Regions from separate parts of the Homo sapiens genome. Here region 1 is linked to region 2. The links are contacts of gene promoters, found by promoter capture Hi-C in blood cells and fetal thymus (Javierre and others, 2016). All regions are on one chromosome and are shown on one strand. Each heading gives the region's core, a stretch centred on a gene start or on the middle of the fragment in contact. The rest is flanking DNA. Distances are from core to core; before and after follow the strand shown. Region 1 overlaps GCSIR (GPR55 cis regulatory suppressor of immune response RNA). Region 2 holds the start of C2orf72 (chromosome 2 open reading frame 72).

Region 1 (5,972 bases), core at 3,271-5,770, 140 kb after region 2:
TGCCCGCTTTGTTATGCAAATGTGAGCCCCCAGGGTCCCATCCTCTTCCTCTTGGGGTTTGGGCTGACCCAGGACCTTTGTTTGTGGGGCTTAGAGAAGCTGGCCGGCCCTCTTTGTATGCCGCACTATAGGAAGCAGAGTCCCAGGGCCCTCTGAAAGCAAAGACACCCATATCCCAGTCCCCAATCTCAGAGATGCAAAGTCAGGGATACCTGTCTAGGAGTTGTAGGGCAATCCAAGAATCAGTGGCAGGGGCAAGCAATGAGGCCCCCAAAATAAATCACCTTGTGTTAAGGGGGATCTCAACTGATAACACTGTTCTGGCCAGCATGGAACGTGGCTGATACTGGACACCCCTTCAAACCCAGCCGCCCTGCCCCAGGAGCTATGCTTTGGGAAGGGATGGCCGAGTGTGAAATGATAACTAAGAAGAGTCTTAAGCCTGAACCTCAACCACCAAGGGCATCCCAGCGTCTGGGGCAGCAGCGTCCCTCCTTGAGACACCAAGCTGCAACAGTGTCACCTTGTGACAGCTTGGAGAAACAGCAGCAGGGGCTGATGGAACCCTGGCTCTCCTCCCTCAGGTGTGGAAGCAAAGGAGGTCCCTGGGGTCTTTGAGTAATTTGGGGGCAAGTCTTCTGCCTAAAAGACCCATAGGGAAAAATAAATTAAGCAATAAAAGAAATTTGACCATTTTGTAATCTAAGTTGGTGAAGTAGGTCATACCAGTTTCACCATCATCATCGTCTTATATGATATTTTATTACTATTACTGCCTCCTGGCATGTATCTATGTAGTAAGTTCCACTATCAGAGGATGACCTTACCTACCTTTATGGTTTTGTTTTTGTTTTTGTTTTGTTTTTGAGACAGAGTCTTGCTCTGTTGCCCAGGTTGGAGAGCAGTGGTGCTATCTCAGCTCATGGCAACCTCCGCCTCTCGGGTTCAAGTGATTCTCCTGCCTCAGCCTCCCGAGTAGCTGGGACTACAGGCACCTGCCACCATGCCTGACTAATATTTTGTATTTTTAGTAGAGATGGAGTTTCACCCTGTTGGCCAGGCTGGGCTCAAACTCCTGGGCTCGAGTGATCCTCCCGCCTCAGCCTCCCAAAATGCTGGGACTACGGGTGTGAACCACTGCATCCGGCTCCCTAACCTTATGTTATAAAAGTTCTCATGAAAGTACTTGGGGTCACCTAATTGTCACCCCATCAAGCATCTCCAAGGCCCAACCACTCCCAGCAGATTCTGCCTTTGACACGATTGTGAGTCCTTTTCCCAATTCCTAATCCCCTCCTGTGGTATCCCCTGTCCCCACCACTGCAAACTACCACCCTTCTTCCAGCTTGCAGCCATCTCTCTCCTCCTGCTCTTCATCACCTGCTCTTAGGGGTCAGTTGCCTCTGGTATAACTTCTTGGCCAGGGTTGTTCCTCCAAGGACTATATACATTGAAACTGGGAGCAAAGCTGTAGTTCAAACCAAGAGAGAAACGCTTTTATAAATACTGTATCTCCAGTGACTCTGAAATTGCGGCAAACAGGCTGCACAGGTGGGGTCCAGCACCGACTTCCCAAGGCTGCACTGCATCTGAAACCAACCAAACCAGGTGAGGGGGTGGCATAAGGGAAGGAGCACTCCCTTGGCAGGATGGGGCTGGGGGGTGTTTCTGGTTGCTGTGCATTACCATCCATCTCCGTCACCCCTGGCCTTCAGGGAAGTCTCCCACCAGTTCTCCCTGGAGTCAGCTGTCCTTTATTGGAGAAAGAAAGGGGGAATGTGCTCCCTGTGGGCTCAGATACACGTGGAGGACAGTTCCTGTAGGACTCAGGGCTCAGAGGAGAATTTGGCAGTTTCTACGACTATGATGGGAGATGCTAGGGTTCCCACTGAATGTGGGATAAAATCACAAGCCCTTCTGCTTGGAGATTTAAAAAGGGGGGGTGACCCCATAAAGCTGGAGGAGTTGGGGCTAGAAACAGGTCTGTAACAAGACCTTGGCTTGAAGGGAACTATTGTGCAGACGTGGAAGCTGAGGCCCATGGGGGCATGAGCAGCACCAGCTCTCTGATGCCCTTGTAAGTGATTTTTGCATGGCACCCCATGCTAACACCCACTCTGGGTCTCTGTGTCCTGGCCCACCGTACCCACTCCAAAATCCTCTCAGGGCTCTTCAAAGATCCTGAGCCATCAAGGGGCGACCCATCTGCTCCCCAGTAGGGGCTGTCACAAGCCCACCCACTGGCTTCCACTACTCAATTGCACCTGGTCGAGAACAGGCTTATTCTCTCCTTGTCTGTTACACCTCATTTGGTCCTCCCTTGCACCGGTGTCCTAAGTAGAAATGCTCCTTCTTAATCACCTCTCACAGCAAGGTCTCGTGGCTCCCGTCCACCCTGTGTGCCTGGCACAGGCTGGGTGCAGAGCAGAGCTGATAAATACCTGGTGATTGACAGCTGCAGTCATCACCACTGCCCCAGCCCTCGCTTCAGACCAGGAAGCAACCGCAGGCTCAAAGACCCTGGGTCCTGGCCCCATAGCACCAGCTAATAATAACAGACAGCTAGGGGCTTGCTCCAAGCCCCTTATACCTGGCTGTGTGCAGAAGCCCTCTGGTAGGATTGATGATAATGCCGGGGTTCCTGGTGTGCCCCAATCACCAGTTAAGAAGATTCTCATATTTCTCTTAAGGTTCAACTAACAACTTTAAGTCCCTCAATATTATGAGAAGGGGCACTTGCAACTTAGATACAATTTCCAGTGATAGCATCATGTGGGGATTTAAAAAGTGCTGAATCTCTGTAACTGAGAGGAGACGGAGGTGACGTACCCTGAAAGTCACCGGTGACTCAAACCGTGGCTCAGGGGTGATGAGGAGACAGACACTCAAGATGCTGGTGACAGGTTGAGATGAAAAAATGTTCCATGAAATGTGAAAGTGGAAAGGAGTTACCTTCTGTGGAATTAAAAGATGTCTTGAAAACCAAATGCATTAACTCCTACAGGAGACATTTAAACAATTACATGCACAACCCTAATAGTTTGTATATTCAAGCTGGATCTTCTCACTTGGAAAAACAATCTCTTCTGTATGCGCATCTTCTTAATGGCCCACTGGGAAATGCCGTATACTCAGGGGTGCCCTGGGTTTGGGCATAGATGATGTACACCCCTAGTTCCTGGTGAAACCCAGGTCTGGGTGAATGGAGCAAATCCAGATCCTTCTAATGGGATAGGGAAGCAGACTGGCTCCTGTTCCCTGTCACTGAGTGATCCAAAGGACCAAGGCCAGGGACCCTTGCACCAAACCGTGCTGTCAGATTCTGTCTGCCAGCGGGGGAGCCCAGGGAAGCCCAGGGCCGCTGCAGTCACCTCCAGGCAGTGCACGTTGCTCAGCAACCTCTTTGCAACTGTGAGCTGCTCCACATCCCTGCGAAGAGCCTTCTTTTGCTTGAATTAGCTGGAGCTGGTTTCTCTTGCAGGGAACAAAGAAGCTTCCTGTTAGCAAAATGAAGTTTCCTGCTTCAGCAAGAGAAAGGCTCCTTATGGGGAGATGGGAGAGGGGAGTGGGAAGACAGAGGCCCTGGGTATGGGTGCTTGGAGATTCTCTCTTTCCTGGGGGTGAAGGGGAAAGGGAGAGGGAGATTGTATGGCCAGACCTCTTCCACAGCCTTAAAACAGGGATGTAAGCCCTTTTGACAATTTCACTTGAATTCCTTGGGAAATACCAGGTTAGGGTGTTTTCTTGGATGAAAACTCGGGTGGTGCAGGCAGCAAAGCCCATCATCGACGGCCCCAGGGAGCCACGTGCAGATTCTTCCCTTTCCTGCAGTGTGCCCTGGCCTGCAAGGCCCTGTCTAAGGACGCTGGGGTGGACTGAGGCTGCCACAGGAGGGCATGGAGGGTATGGAGGAAAAGGAAAGCTGCTTGATTCATCGGCATCTGACAAAGTGTTCTGTCTACACCATGCCTGCTGCACGAGGCACCTGGTCAGATGTTGGCCCTTGCTGCCCACTAAAGGTCAAAGAGGTGATGGGGATCCCCCTTCCCCACATCATCCCAGGAATTCTCTGACTGTCCTTGGGTCTCTCTGGGAAGACTTCTCGGAGCCCCTGGCCCCAGCTGGGGGTCCCTCCTCTGTGATCCCATGGCACCCTAACTTTCCACAAGGAACTGGGGTGAGTGAGGGTCTCTTGAGTGCAGGGAGCTCATTCAGGTTTATTATGGAAGCTGGGTGACAGTGATGGTTGCATGGTTGCACAACTTTATAAATTTTCTAAAAATTACTGAATTGTTAAACAAGAAAGAAGGAAGCAAAAGCTGTTTTGTTGAAGGATGTACATGGAAATAAAGAAGACAGGACTCTCAGCTCCGTGCAAGCCTGCCCGGGTCCCAGGACAGGCTCACAGCAAGACCTCCCGGGAGGTCCCCATGGGGCCTGGAACACGGCTCAGGTTTGGAAGGGCTTGAGGGTCCAGGGAAGTCTATTGGCTCTGCTCTATCCTTCCTGCCTTTCGGTCTCTGTCTCCTACCACCGTTGTCCCAGCTGGCGGCCACTATCTCTGCTGGCCTCTCCACCCGTGTCCATCACTGGCAGCCTGAGGATGGGCTACCTGTGAATCACGTGCTCCTCCCTGGTCCAGTCAACCACGGCGGAGGAGATGGGGCCATGTGAGATGCCGCCTATGGGGCCGCCTGGAGCTGCTACCTTCAGCAGGGGCCTGGCAGGTGCTCTGAGGCTTTGTGTGTTTTTCTCCACCTCTGTGCCAGGAGGCTGCTGCCCTTCAAGTCTTGTGGGGACACAGTCATGTCCATTCACACTGTCTGCAGTGGCTGCTTTGGAGCTACAGCAGACCACGGTAGTTATGACAGAGACTGTATGGTTTGTAAAACTGAAAACACTTGTAATCTAGCCCTTTGCAAAAAATTTCCCTAATGCCTGCTCTGAACTATAAACTCTTCAGGGAAGGGACTAGGTCTTGTTCATCTCTGGATCTTCAGAACTTAGCAGAGTGTCAGACACATAGTAGAAGCTCAATAAATTGTAGGAGCTCAATTAAATAGATAAATAGATGGAGTCTGGGCTGAATCTGTGCAGTCTATGTCCTTTACTTTAAAAAGAGGCTTCCCGGCCGGGTGCAGTGACTCACACCTGTAAGCACTTTGGGAGGCCAAGGTGGTAGGATCGCGTGAGCTCAGGAGTTTGAGACCAGCCTGGGCAATGTAGTGAGACCTTGTCTCTATTAAAAATAATAATAATAATAATAATAACTGGGTGTGGTGGTGTGCTTGTCATCCCAGCTACTTGGGGGGCTGAGGTGGGAGGATTGCATGAGCTCGGGAGGTTGAGGCTGCAATGAGCTGTGATCCTGCCACTGGACCCCAACCTGGGTGACAGAGCGAGACCCTGTCTCAGAAGGGAAATAAATAAAAGGGGGCTTCTCCTAGACAACACTCTCCTCCTGCTCCTGCTCATTGAACAAGGTGACCAAATGTCCCAGTCTGTCCAGGACTGAGGGAGACCAAGGCTACTCAGTGTTAAAGCTTGGAAAGTTCCAGGCAAACTGGGATAATGTGGTTCCTTATATTGGATACCTGGCCTCTCTATATGTTGAAGCAGCTGCCTACCTCATTTGGGCAATGAATCCACTGTAGTTAGCCAGGTAGAACCATGTGTGCCTAGTAGAAATAGGAATACACATAATCAGCTGCATAACAGATTCAAACAACATAACAGTGTAAAGGAGCAAGGCAGTACCTGGTGGTAGCAGTTGTGCTGAGGATTCTGGGTGTTACCAGTGAAGCGGGTAAGATCTCGTGGGGCTGGGATGATGGAGAAAGGCTTTCTGGGAAGCTGGAGTCCACTCAAGTCTTGATTGGATGAGACAGAATCATCTCTGGCAGAGAAGGAAGGCAGCGACCTTACTGGTGCACGAGGTCCCTGGTGTCCACGTATCAGTCCCCAGGGAAAAT
Region 2 (5,910 bases), core at 442-2,941:
TATATCTCCTAATGCTATCCCTCCTCCCTCCCCCTACGCCACAACAGTCCCTGGTGTGTGATGTTCCCCTTCCTGTGTCCATGTGTTCTCATTATTCAATTCCCACCTACGAGTGAGAACATGCTGTGTTTGGTTTTTTGTCCTTGCGATAGCCAGATGCAGCTACTCTTAATGTGCATATTTTCATCCTAGAACATTGGAGAGTTCCTGTAAAGCCTTGTGTTCCAGGAGGAAGGAGATCCTGACCCTTCTGCTGATGGCAGCAGTCACGGGGGCTGGGAAAAGACCCTTAAATCCCTTCCACCTTTCAGGAGAATGTGGAGGGAAAAGGTGGCCTCAGCAGACCTGGGGGAGGCTGAGGGACACAGCAGTTGGGTGCACAGCCTTGGTGGGTGGCCAGAAATCAATAGAAAATGTACTCTTAGTCCCTCTCACCTCCCCACACGTCAAGTCCCGAGCACCCATTCCTTGCCCTCTTCCTAAAACCAGGCAGGGCTTCCAGGACGAGCCTCCACCGCGCTGGAGATGCCCCTCCGCCCCTCCTAGAGCTCCCGACGCATCTCTGGCTGCGCAGCGCCCTAGAATTTAGCTTCTGGCACCGCCAATCTCCTTAGCACCCATCCACCCCCTTGAAACTTTCCCATCCCAAGGCTTTCCCATTTCCTTCCCCACTCCTCTTCTCTCCCCACCCCCACCCACCCCGTAACTCCTAGATCTCGGCCTTGCCCGATTCATCCCTTCTCTCTACCCACTCCCTCTGCCTTCTACTCGGCCCCTCAGCTTTCCCACGCCCCCTAGGCATCTCCCGTGCACTCCGGACCCTTCCGGGACAGACTCGATCCGCTACGCACGGCCCGCTCTCCGCTAGCTGCGAGGCCTGGCTCTAGGCACCTCCCTGCTCTGAGCCTCAGTTTACCTCGGTGCTCAATAAGGGAATGGCCAAAGGGGTCCAACTTGGGGGACGTGCCCGAGCCACCGCCCGCCCGCGCCCAGCCGGGCCCCGCGCAGTCTCACCTGGTTGCCCGGCTCCGGCGGCTTGCAGGGCCCTGCAGGCGGCCGCCTGGACGGCCAGGCAGGAGGCCGGGAGGCCGGGGCAGTAGGCGGCCGCCTGCACGGGCCCCCCCGCCTGGCGGCCGAACACGGCGCGCAACAGCGCCTCCAGCAGCCGCAGCCCCGGCGCCACCGCGTCCTCTGGCCCGGCCTCGGCCACCAGCACCCCGACCAGCGCCGCCCCGGCCCGCCGCCGGCCGCGCACGTCCCGCAGCATCTCCCGCAGGCGGCGCCGCGGCTCCCGGGCGGCCAGCGACGACGCGCGGCACAGCACGAAGACCAGCGGCGAGCGGATGGCGCGCGCCGCCGCCGCCGCCGCCCCCGCCGCCCCAGCCGCCCTCGCCGCCCTCTGCGCCCCGCGCGCCGCCCCGGGCCCCGCGCCCTCTGCCGCCGCGCCGCCCGGCTTGGCCGCGCCTGGCTCCGGCGGGAACACCGCCCGTGCGAAGTCCCGCAGCAGCGCGCGGCTCTGTTCGCGCTCCCACAGCTCGCCCACCAGCAGCACCTGCCCGCGGCCCCCCGCCGCTTCCACCAACGCCTGGAAGGGCGGCTCGGCAGGGCGCGCAAGCCGGGCCGCCAGCGCCTCCAGCTCGCGCTCCATGCTGGCCGCCGCCCGCCCTCTGCGGCCGCCGCGGCCCGGGCGCACCCGCTGCCCGCCTCTCGGGGCGGTGGCGCCCCGGCACAGAGGACACGCCCCCGAGGGCCGAGCCCAGCCGGACCCCCGGGCCCCCGGGCGGGGCCTCTGTGTGCACGCGCCCCTGGGCGCAGCCCGCATCGCGGGCCCGGGTGGGAGGAAGAGGGCTTTCTCCTCAGCCCTCCAAGGGTGGCTCCTCCCGAAGTCCCTGCGCAGACGCGGGGAAACAGAGAGTCATTCATTCATTCATTTGTTCGTCCATCCCACACATACTTACTGCGCACCTACTATGTGCAGGCGCTGGGCAGCCGAGGTTGGGAAGACAGACAATTATCCCCTCACTAGATAAGATCGTTTGGAGACCTGGAGCAGAGTCCTGCACAGTTTGGGGTCTTGCCGAGGTGGGGTGGGAGGTAGGGGGGTAGGGGGCGGAGGGCGCAGAAGTGGGTAGGAAGGTGAGATAAAAGAGAACACGCAGGGGTTATTTCTGCCACCCAGCTTTCCTTTTGGGCTTCAACATTTAGCAAAAACTGACCGAGGGTCCATTATTTCCACAAATACTTATTGTACCACCCCAGGCGCTGGGGTTGAAACCCAGACTGTTTCCGTAAAGCAGAAAGTCTAGGGGGCCAGATGCAGGACACGGATGGTGCTCTGATCTGCGTGGGGAGCAAGGGGCCAGCCAGGTCAGAAGCAGGAATGCATTTCCCTTCCTTCTAAGGATCTAGGTCAGCCTTGTCCAATAGAACATTCTGTGATGATGGAAAACTTTTTTATTGTCTGCACCATATGTGACTATTATTGAGTACCTGAAATCTGGCGAGTGCAACTGAAGAACTGAGTATTACATTTCACGTAATTTGTAATGAAATGTAAAATTAAAGCAGAAAGTGACAAGATGATAATGTACTTAAAGGGCTGGCACCTTTCTCTGAATAGTACCCTAAAGACGCCGCAGAAGCAAGAGGGGAGTTGGTAAGGACTCTGAGAAACCAATGTAAAACCAGGGAAGGCCTGTCGCCTCCTCCCCTCAGTGCCATAGAAGGGGGATAGGCTGAGTGAACGCTATACACTTGTGCTCTTTTCTTTGCTTGCATTGGCCTGAGTAGACCATTTCTCAACCCCATCTCCCCAGCACTGCTGGGAGGCAGAAAACAGCTGTGCTAGCCAGGGATGGCATATCAGGCTGGGGCTAGCAGCACAGAAAAACCAGACCCGGCAGCCTCTTCTTCCCACTTCATGGGTCAGGAATTCCAACCACGAGACCTGCCTCATGAAAGAGGATTGGCCAGGGGAGAGTGCCCAGAAGCTCCCTGAGTGGGGTGTCTGGTGTGTGTGAGGGTGGCACATGGGGAGTGGCTACATTCACATTTGATGCCAGAGGCAAGTCCCATCACACCCCCATTCCTTAAGCTCCCAGGTGGGATATATAGGAAGAGCCTAGGTTTTAGTCTCTTCCAGGTGTACCTATCGCCAACCAAAGTAGCTGATATCTAGGGAAACATGAATTCACTGGGAAAAATAATTAGACTTCTGGGGCCGGGCGCTGTGGCTTGTGTCTGTAATCCCAGCACTTTGGGAGGCCAAGGCAGGTGGATCACCTGAGGTCGGGGATTGGAGGCCAGCCTGACCAACATGGAGAAACCCAGTCTCTACTAAAAATACAAAATTAGCCAGGCATGGTGGTGCATGCCTGTAGTCCCAGCTACTTGGGAGGCTAAGGCAGGAGAATGGCTTGAACCCAGGAGGTGGAGGTTTTGGTGAGCTGAGATCGTGCCATTGCACTCCAGCCTGGGCATCAAGAGCGAAACTCTGTCTCAAAAAATAAATAAATGAATAAAATAAAATAAAAAATAAAAAACAGTTAGGCTTCTGGAAAGTATAAAACAAAGCAGGTTTAATGGATATATGAATTAAGATTCATTTCTTAATAACACAGACAACACTAATAACAATGAAAATTTCTTTTTCTCTTTTGTAGACGTTTGGGGATGGACAGTTTATGGCTGAAATAGTATAATAGTTCTGCTTTACTAGGTGTTTGAAGACTCAGATTTCATACCAAGTCACTATTGCCCTCTGACATCTTCATAATCCAAATTGGCTGCTAAAGCTTGGGCCATCACACCTGTATTCCCAGAAGCTGGGTAGTAGAAGGACTGAGGAAGGAACAAAAATCTGGTTGACTTCAGATTTCTTAGCAACAACATTGGGTTTAAGAAAAAATGGAAAAATTGTTTTAAAGTATCAAAGAAAAATAACTTTGACCCTAGATTTGGATTTCTAGCTAAATTATCAGGTATATAAAGAATCAGAAGGCGTATCACATATAGCCCCTCTTTGAAAACACTATTGGAGGAAGTGCCCTATCAAAAAGGGAACTAAATCTGGCTGGGCATGGTGGCTCACTCCTGTTACCCCAGCACTTTGTAGACTGAGGCTGGCAGATCATCTGAAGTCAGGAGTTCAAGACCAGCCTGGCCAAAATGGTGAAACCCCGTCTCCAATAAAAATACAAAAATTAGCTGGGCATGGTGGTGTGTGCCTGTAATCCCAGCTACTTGGGAGGCTGAGGCAGGAGACTCGCTTGAACCCAGGAGACGGAGGTTGCGGTGAGCCAAGATTATACCAGTGTACTCCAGCCTGGGTGACAGAGTGAGACTATCTTAAAAAAAAAAAAAAAAAAAGAGGAACTAAGAGTGCTCAATAATAGCAAGTAAGAGGGATTAAATCACTTGTCTAAATAACAGTGCAAGGCCATGCCAGCAAAGCACAGCCTAAGTGGGTATAATAAACTGGGAGGGTGGGTGGCAGAGCCAGGGTGAAACCTACAAGTTGACCAGAAAGGGAATTAACCCCATCCAGGTCACCTCTGAGGAAGAGAGAAAGACAAGTTCTAGAGAAGCACTGTCAGGTATACTGGGATTTTTAGCACATTCTTACAAGGCTTGTCTAAAACCAACATGCTCTGCCTCCTGAACTATATATTCTCAGCCTCTAAATCTCCACAACTAATTACAAATTTCCATAGGCGGGATGCGGGATGGATCAGAGGGGGGTGGAATGTTAAACGAAGGTTGGAGTCCAGGGCCAGTAAAGTTTATCTTTATCTGTGTTATTTACACAGCAAAGGTTCTGGTATTAAATTAACAGGAAACTGCAAAGATCTTTTTTTTTTTTTTAAAAAAAGGCAAGATGCCAAGAATATTTCTTCCTCCTCTCCCACCGCACCTTAGAAAAACATCATAAAATTAATGGACTTCTTCTTTCTCTGGTGTTCAATGAAGATATAAAGTAAACTGGGATTTTTGAAATACTTTACCTCTTCATGTTCATTTAAACAGAATTTGGTGGGAATCAAGTGATAAGAGACTGGTGTGGTGGCTCACACCTGTAATCCCGGTACTTTGGGAAACTGAGGTGGAAGGATTTCTTGAGCCCAGGAGTTTTAGACCAGCCTGGGCATCATAGCGAGACCCCATCCCTAAATAAACAAACAAACAAAAATCAAACAGCTAGTTGGGTATGGCAGTGTGTATCTAGTCACAGTTACTCCTTGGGAGGTTGGGGTGGGTGGATGGCTTGAGCCCGAGAGGTCGAGGCTGCAGTGAGCCGTGATTGTGCCACTGCACTCCAGCCTGGGTGAGAGATCAAGGACTTGTCTCAAAAAAAAAAAAAAAAAAAAAAAAGTGACCAGAAAGTGTTGGTTTGGAAAACAAGGAGTAATCTCCCTCTAGTTGCTTGCCAGCTCCTTTTCCCTCTTTACTCACACTCTGTCACCCTATTCTCCTCTCCTTCTTTCTTCCTTTCCCCGCTTCCCCTCTCCCCACCTCCCCCTTTCTCTCTTCTTTCCTTTCCTTCCTCTCTTCTCTCCCTGTACTTTTCCGCTTTTTCCCTAAGATGTTTGATTTGGGGGCTAAAAGGAAGGCTGGACCTGGGGAGACTTTCTGGCTTCCTGGGGAGCTGGGTGGAGGGAGGAAGATCTTTAACATGAGGAAGACCTCAGAGGGAAAGGAAATTGGAGGAGCCCCCAGGACCCACGGAGGAAAGAGGCTGAGGTGGGAAGAGGGGCTGGAAACTTGAAACTGGGTCTAACAAGTGCTGGGTGCCCCTGAGGTGGAGCAGGCCTGCTCGCTGGTGTGCTGGGACTTCGTTTCCTCCTCTGCCAGGCCCAGGCTGGTTCCCATGAGGGCACCAGGAATGCAGATCTCTGTGCCAGCTGGTGTTCT

Evidence for each region. Contacts are between HindIII fragments. The CHiCAGO score rates a contact against its expected background, and 5 or more counts as called.
Region 1: a contact is called between a fragment that was not itself captured here and the fragment with the promoter of C2orf72 in region 2, in 3 of 17 cell types (M0 macrophages, M1 macrophages and M2 macrophages). The highest score is 6.1, in M0 macrophages.

What each region holds. Positions count from the first base shown.
Region 1 is chr2:230,896,876-230,902,847 of GRCh38, reverse strand. It overlaps GCSIR (GPR55 cis regulatory suppressor of immune response RNA), which reads right to left. Exons shown (of 4, transcript NR_038238.1): 3 at 5,758-5,972. Among named protein-coding and RNA genes, the nearest start is that of GCSIR, 13 kb to the right of the region's middle. RefSeq lists silencers at 311-370, 441-520. The HindIII fragment of the contact is 2,050 bases long and covers 3,496-5,545 here.
Region 2 is chr2:231,033,304-231,039,213 of GRCh38, reverse strand. C2orf72 (chromosome 2 open reading frame 72) reads right to left here and starts at 1,691. Exons shown (of 3, transcript NM_001144994.2): 1 at 1,015-1,691. The coding sequence starts at 1,648. The HindIII fragment of the contact is 4,632 bases long and covers 1-3,796 here.